Linked DNA regions of Homo sapiens: region 2 is linked to region 1. The links are contacts of gene promoters, found by promoter capture Hi-C in blood cells and fetal thymus (Javierre and others, 2016). All regions are on one chromosome and are shown on one strand. Each heading gives the region's core, a stretch centred on a gene start or on the middle of the fragment in contact. The rest is flanking DNA. Distances are from core to core; before and after follow the strand shown.

What was found. The method cuts DNA at HindIII sites, captures the fragments that hold promoters and counts their contacts. A CHiCAGO score of 5 or more calls a contact.
Region 2: the fragment with the promoter of CYB561A3 here is called in contact with the fragment with the promoter of TIMM10 in region 1 in 1 of 17 cell types (erythroblasts); the score reaches 5.6 in erythroblasts.

Annotation. Positions count from the first base shown.
Region 1 is chr11:57,529,029-57,532,405 of GRCh38, forward strand. It overlaps TIMM10 (translocase of inner mitochondrial membrane 10), which reads right to left and starts at 1,726. Exons shown (of 3, transcript NM_012456.3): 1 at 1,630-1,726; 2 at 1,091-1,206. The coding sequence starts at 1,161. RefSeq lists an enhancer at 1,726-1,905. The HindIII fragment of the contact is 3,024 bases long and covers 1-1,899 here.
Region 2 is chr11:61,360,134-61,363,510 of GRCh38, forward strand. CYB561A3 (cytochrome b561 family member A3) reads right to left here and starts at 1,749. Exons shown (of 7, transcript NM_153611.6): 1 at 1,600-1,749. TMEM138 (transmembrane protein 138) reads left to right here and starts at 2,241. Exons shown (of 5, transcript NM_016464.5): 1 at 2,241-2,287. RefSeq lists enhancers at 1,300-1,519, 1,638-2,359, 1,770-2,259. The HindIII fragment of the contact is 4,335 bases long and covers 1-3,377 here.

The sequences.
Region 1 (3,377 bases), core at 476-2,975:
AAATCCTCAGTTTACACCTCAACCACTGGAAGGTCCTTGCAAGTAGGAAACTTGTCTAAGTCCATGTATATGACTAACTAAGTAGAAACCATTTGTTGAGGACTGGCTACATGCCAGGCATCCTGCTAAGTGCTTTACCTGCATTCTGTTATGCAATGCTTACAATAACCCTAAGAGACATGTATCCCCATTTTACAGATGAGGAAATTAAGGCAAACAGAGGCTCAGTAATTTTCTAAGGATCACACAGAGCTGGGTTATGAAGCCAGGTCATCTGACCTCACAGTCTACACTTAAAAATCCTTCTAATTTATAGCCTTCAGGATAAACCAACCAATCAAGAGAGCTTAAGCCAATAAAAATAGCAGACATTTCACTAAGTGTTGGGCTTGAGGCTAAGGGCTTTCATATATTTTTAGATTTAATATTTATGATGTCCTATGAGGTAGGTATCATTATGTCTTCTTCATAATGAGGAAACCAATTGTCAAACAGTGCAAGTAACATGTCCAATTATACTGCTGGTGATTGGTGGAGCCAGGATTTGTTCCCAAATTTGCCAAATGGTTATGAGCACTAGTTGCAGAATCAGACTGAGGTGCTAGTTCTGGCATTGTTACTGACCAGCTGCCGACCCTAAGGAAGTTACTTAACCTCTAGAATCATCAATTTCCTCATTTTAAGACGGGACTAATAAAATTAACCCACTGGATTATTTTGAAGATTAACAAGTGCCTGACACAGAATAAAGGGTTTTAAAATGTTAACTACTAAATGGGCTGGCTATGTGCTATTTGTCAAGAGGCAAATACTCAGCTTTTCTTGGAACCTAACCAGAGCCTGGATTGGAGTTTCTCTTCCTGCTTGGCTCCTGCATTGCCAGTTCCATCCCCATCTAAATGCCCAACTCATTCTAGTGACCCTTTACTGCATCTACATTAGGATCAACCTTGAAGGTGGGTGTGGGGAGGGTAAGCATGGGCCTCAGGCTCCCCTACATTCAGGAAGGAATTTGTCATAAGTCATTCACCTTCGATAAGGGTGACCAAGACTTATTTTCCAAGACAGGGTAGCACATAGTTCTCTTTACCTGTTGTACATATCGGCCATCATCTCCACCTCCAGCTCCGCAGCCAGCTGTTGGGCCCTGAGAGGATCCATCTCAGCCTAGCACCGTGGAAGGGATCTCCTTCTGGCCTCCTAATCCTGGGAGCAGACATCACCATCAGCACCCACCGCCGCCGTTCACTCTCCTACCCCTGGGGCTAGAGGATACAGAGGACTCACAGGGCGCCAGACCACCACGGGCCACTAACCTCAGTGAGCTTAACCACCCCATTTCACGGATGTGGAAACTGAGGCCTAGCCCAAGGTCGCACAGGACGTCTATGGCGAGCCTGGAAATCGAGCCCCGGATCTCTGATGCCCCAGTTCCTGGAGGTCACCTCTATTCAGGAGATCGAGGACCGGAGGAGAACTCTCTAACCCACGAACCTGAACCTCCAGGGCCCTGGGAATGGGATCATACGCTGAACAGAGGCGACCGGGACCCAGCCCAAAGGCTACACCTCTGAAATGGCGACGCCATCATCAGGGCCACATTGAATTCAGAGGTCATGTGTCACTTACCACTGCCTGGGACGGATCACAATGCCCACGGAGACCCCAACTTCTGACAAATACTATAACGTTACCCGCCTCCCGAGAGGCTCCAGCGGAAGCACGTGGGTTACTTCCGGGAGGAAAGTCCCGCCTCTTCTTTGATTCAAACTCGCTTCCGGAATTAAATACCAACGAGACGGCGCCGGGAACTCGGCGATCATAGAGAGGGAGCGGCTGGCGCCGGGCGAAGAGGAAGGCGACTTGCCAGTGCTAGAGAGGACACCAAAGTACCATAGAAGCTTGGGCGGGGTGCAGAGCGTCTGCAGCCCGATCAGAATTCAAGTCCTTTGGGATGTCACCGAGCGGCTTCAGTTTATTGGTTCTGTAGGAAGAGGCGTGGCGACAGACACCTGTGAACCTCACCCCCGTTCCAGACAGCCGACTCCTGTGCGCAAATCAGGCGTGGAGAAGGAAGAACGCCCCCAAACAGCGGTTCTGTTTTTGTTTCGCGTTAAAATCACCTGGAACGTTTTTAAACATCCCAGTGCCCAGGACTCACCTCATTTCAATTAAATCAGAATCTCTGGGAGTACAGTTTAAAATTCCTCAGGCAGCAATACAATTTAAAATTCCCCAGGTGATTCGTATGTACAGCCAAATTTGAGAAGCAGTGCTCCACGGGACGTTGTGCGATTACTGCTGTGTGTAGGTCACACTAAGCCCCGTCTGGGGTTGCAAAGATAAGCGAGATAGGCTTCCTGTTCGCAGAAAGACAAGACGTGTAAAATATGTTTTCTTCAACAGTTAGAGGTCCTCAGCCACAAAGAGATAATAAAAGCAATTTCGGCTGCCACCAGGGCTAATCTTGGGTGAGGGAAAGAAGGGTACTGGTGAACTTTCCAACTTTCAAGACTTAATGTGTTCTTCAAACTGCACCATTCACTCATTCCCCACTAAAAAGAAGGAAACAAGGAAACAATACTCAGTCCCTTGATTTGTCACACAATTTCCTGGTAAAATAAATTTACAAGATGTAAATTAATGACGCAAGGGCACATTGCCCATTGGAAAAGGTGGGCTAGACATTTTCTGTGTGGTCATCATAAGCTTCCCTAATTGTCCAAGACCATCCTAATTTTAAACAATTGACCTTTCTACTGCTTTGAAGACTCATCTTTGCCAAACTTGTGCCCTGATTTTTAAAGATTGGGGTATAACATTCATAAAGTGCATAAAATACACGAATGTTAAGCTTAATTAAATATATATGTATCTATATATGTACATTTGTATAACCGCCATCCAGATCAAGATATAAAATACTTCCTGCACCCCAAAAAGTTATCTTGTGTTCCTTCCCCATCAATACCCCCTCTCGAAGTTAACCACTATTCTGACCTCTATCACCATCAATTAGTTTTCCTTGTTCTTGAACTTCGTGTAAATGGAATTATACATTATTTTCTATTTTGTGCCTGACTTCTTTAGCTCAATGTACCTGTAAGATTTCCTCCATATTGTTGTGTGCATCTGTTATTCCTTCTGTTTTATTGCTGTCTAGTGTTTGATTGTATGAGTATGCCACAATTCATCTATCCATTCTCCCGTTGGTGGATGTTTGGATTGTTTCCAGTTTTTGCCTATTATGCAATAATGCTGCTATGATACTCTTGTACAGATGGACATATCTTGCCTTGGTTTTTGCCTTTGAAAATATAGTCAACATTGGCCGGGTGCAGTGGCTCACGCCTGTAATCCCAGCACTTTGGGAGGCT
Region 2 (3,377 bases), core at 499-2,998, 3.8 Mb after region 1:
CAGGAGGCTGAGGTGGGAGGATGGCTTGAGCCCAGGAGAAGGCTGAAGTGAGCCGAGATCGCACCACTGCACTCTAGCCTGGGCGACAGAGCTAGACTCTGTCTCAAAAACAAAACAAAACAAAAAAACCGTGAAAACTGCAATGCAAATGCTTGAAAATATCCTCTCATTTGTTCTAAGGGCAGGCTGGGCTGTGATCCCAGGGTGTGCTCACTTTGCAGAGCCCCATTCTAAGGGAGCAGTCAGCAAGCTCTTCTGTAAAGGTCCAGGTAGTAAATATTCTAGGCTTTGTAGAGCACATGGTCTGTCACAACTATGTCATCAACTCTGCCCATGCAAGAGCAGCCACATAAACATCTTAACAAATGAGCACCACGGCTGTGTTCCAGTAATATTTATTTATGGACACTGAAGTCTGAGTTTCACATAATTTTCACGTCACAAGATATTATTAACTTCTTGCGAAAAAGGATTCTCCCGGCTGAGCTAAAACAGGTCACATCCAGGGGTAAGAAATGCTAGTTCCCATCCAGCCCTTAGTCTTAGAAAAAGGCTCTACGCAGGCTGGGCGCGGTAGCTCACGCCTGTAATCCCAGCACTTTGGGAAGCCGAGGCGGGCGGATCACATGAGGTCAGGAGTTCGAGACCAGCCTGACCAACATGGAGAAACCCCGTCTCTACTAAAAATACAAAAATTAGCCGGGCGCGGTAGCGGGCGCCTGTAATCCCAGCTACTTGGGAGGCTGAGGCAGGGGAATCGCTTGAACCCGGGAGGCGGAGGTTGCAGTGAGCCGAGATCGTGCCACTGCATTCCAGCCTGGGCGACAGAGTGAGACTCTGTCTCAGAAAAAAAAAAAAGAAAGAAAAAGAAAAAGGCTCTACTCCAAACTCTTGCAGTGTTACTTTTATAATTTAGAACTACAAATAAATGAAGGGGTAGAAAATCAGTTTGTTGCTCTCCCTCCCCGATGGACTGGGGGACTTCAAGAATCTTGAGGACCAGATTTAGGATACAAGCCCTAAACCCTCATCTTACAAATCAAAAACACTGTGACACTGGGGCCCAAAACAAGAAAATGACTTAGCCAAGGTAAGTGGCCGAGCTGGTACAGGAATTCGGGTCCACTCCCTCTCAGCTCTGAGGATTCCTTATTCTCAAAGGTAGCTTCTGTTAAAGTCGGAACATGAGGAGTGAAGGGCTCAATATTCCTGCCAAGGAGGTAGGTGAACAAGTTACCCCTTAGCACCGGAATAATTATAGACCCCGACTTCAGGCTGTGCCTAGGTCCGGCTCAGGTGTCCAAAGAACCGTTCCAGGCACCCGAGGGGTGATCCCTGACTCCTCTGCTGGGTGCTCGTGCCAGCTAACAATGGGTGAAAATTGGGGTGAGGAGCTCCAGGTGCTTTCTGCGTCCTCTGAAGAGCTTTCGTGCCTTTATAACCACCGCGTTGGAAGGAAGAGCGCGGAGAAAGGTGCCCACTTTCTAAAAGAGAAAATTGAGGCCGAGCAAGGGGATCGCGACAGTGCGAAGCGAGATAGCAGCGGAACCAGCATTCGAACCCAGGTCCCTGAACTCCCAGCCCCGGGATCCTTCTCACCCCTAACCACAGTGGGACGAAGTGAGGCCGGGATCTCCGGAACCCGCCTCTCGCTACCAGGCGCCGGAGCTGCCGCTCCCGAGGTTCCTAGGAGATGCAGAAGACACTGCCCTGAATGCCTACAGCCGGCTGGCAATGCCGCCCCAGAGCAGAGCGGCGGGTGCCGCCTCGCCTTCTTATAGGCTCGCAGCACTTCCAGTCGCGCGCGAGGCCTCCTGGGAAGTGAAGTCCGGAGACCAGGGGTGGCCGGCTCCCAGCGCGCCAAGCTGCTAACCCCCTAACTCCCGTTCCTCCTCGGCGTTTCTTCTCCAAGTCCGAAGTCAGGGTCCAGGACTGCTGCGATGCATCAGCCCCGCCTCTCATCCCCCATCCAGAGGAGGCGGAAATGTTCAGGTGAACGCGAAGCCTCCCACTACGAGCCGGCCCTCAGCAAGGCCGTGCGCAGTGTGGGCGGGAGCCCTAAGTCAGCTAGCGGCGACGCTGGGAGGGCCCGGAGCAGGCCGGGCCCCGAACAGCGAAAGCTCCAACATGGCGGCCAGACTGGCCATAGAGCGGGAAGAGAAAGCCGGGGACTAGCAGGCCGCACGGCGCAGACGGGGCCCGCCTCCTCCATTTACTTCCGGAATTTAAAGCCGGCTTCCGGAAGCCGGGACGATGTCCGCATGACAACCGACGTTGGAGTTTGGAGGTGAGAGTGATTGACGAGGAGTGGGTTAAGTGACCAGAAGTCAGAATTTTTGGTGCTGTTGTTTTGGGCTTGGGTTTTATGCTTTGTTGTTGTTTGCCAAGGAAGCCTCGTTTTTAAGTGGATTGGGAAGCGTGAGGAATACTGCCCTAGGTACAAAGGGAAGGCGGCAGGTAGCGGTGGACGAATTAAAGAGCTTCATGAGCTTGTGAGTCTCCACTGCCCTAAACTGGAGGGGATCGTCGTACGTAGAGACAGGCATGGGCGTTTCTGCATAACGGATCCTCAAAACAGCCCTGGATGGTGGCCTATGAGTAGTGGTTAAGAGCACGGGTTTGGCGTCACAGTTATGAAGCCGGGTTCTGCTGACTTGAGACCTGGAGGAATGCCTTGAGCTCTGACTTCTGTGTCCTTTCCTGTAGAATAGGAATAATTCCCACCTTGCAGACTTGTAGGGAGGATTAAAGGAAACGATCTTGGTTGACAAGTTTATCGTGGTGTGAGTACCTAGGTAGTAGCTATCAGTGTTATTTAATGCGGCCGGGCGCAGTGGCTCACGCCTGTAATCCCAGCACTTTGGGAGGCCGAGGCGGGAGGATCACGAGGTCAGGAGATCGAGACCATCCTGGCTAACATGGTGAAACCCCGTCTCTACTAAAAATACAAAAAATTAGCCAGGCGTGGTGGCACGCACCTGTAGTCCCAGCTACTTGGGAGGCTGAGGCAGGAGAATCGCTTGAACCCGAGAGGCGGAGGTTGCAGTGAGCCAAGATCATGCCACTGCACTCCAGCCTGGCGACAGAGCGAGACACTCTCTCTCTCTCTAAAATTTAATGAATGAGGAAACCGCGAACATATGTCCAATAAGGTGGGACTTCACCAGCTGAGGTGGAGGAGGTGCCTTAACCTTCCGGAGCCTCTGTGTAAAATGGGGATAATATACATTGTAATGGCTACTTCTCAAGATGGTTGTAGGATTACGTAAGGTTAGAAATATGAAAAGAGCTTATAAATTGCAAAACATTTTACCGATGCTAATTTAATCGCTAACACTCCAGAGCATTTTGAAATTTCTTTATAGATTTGGCACAGC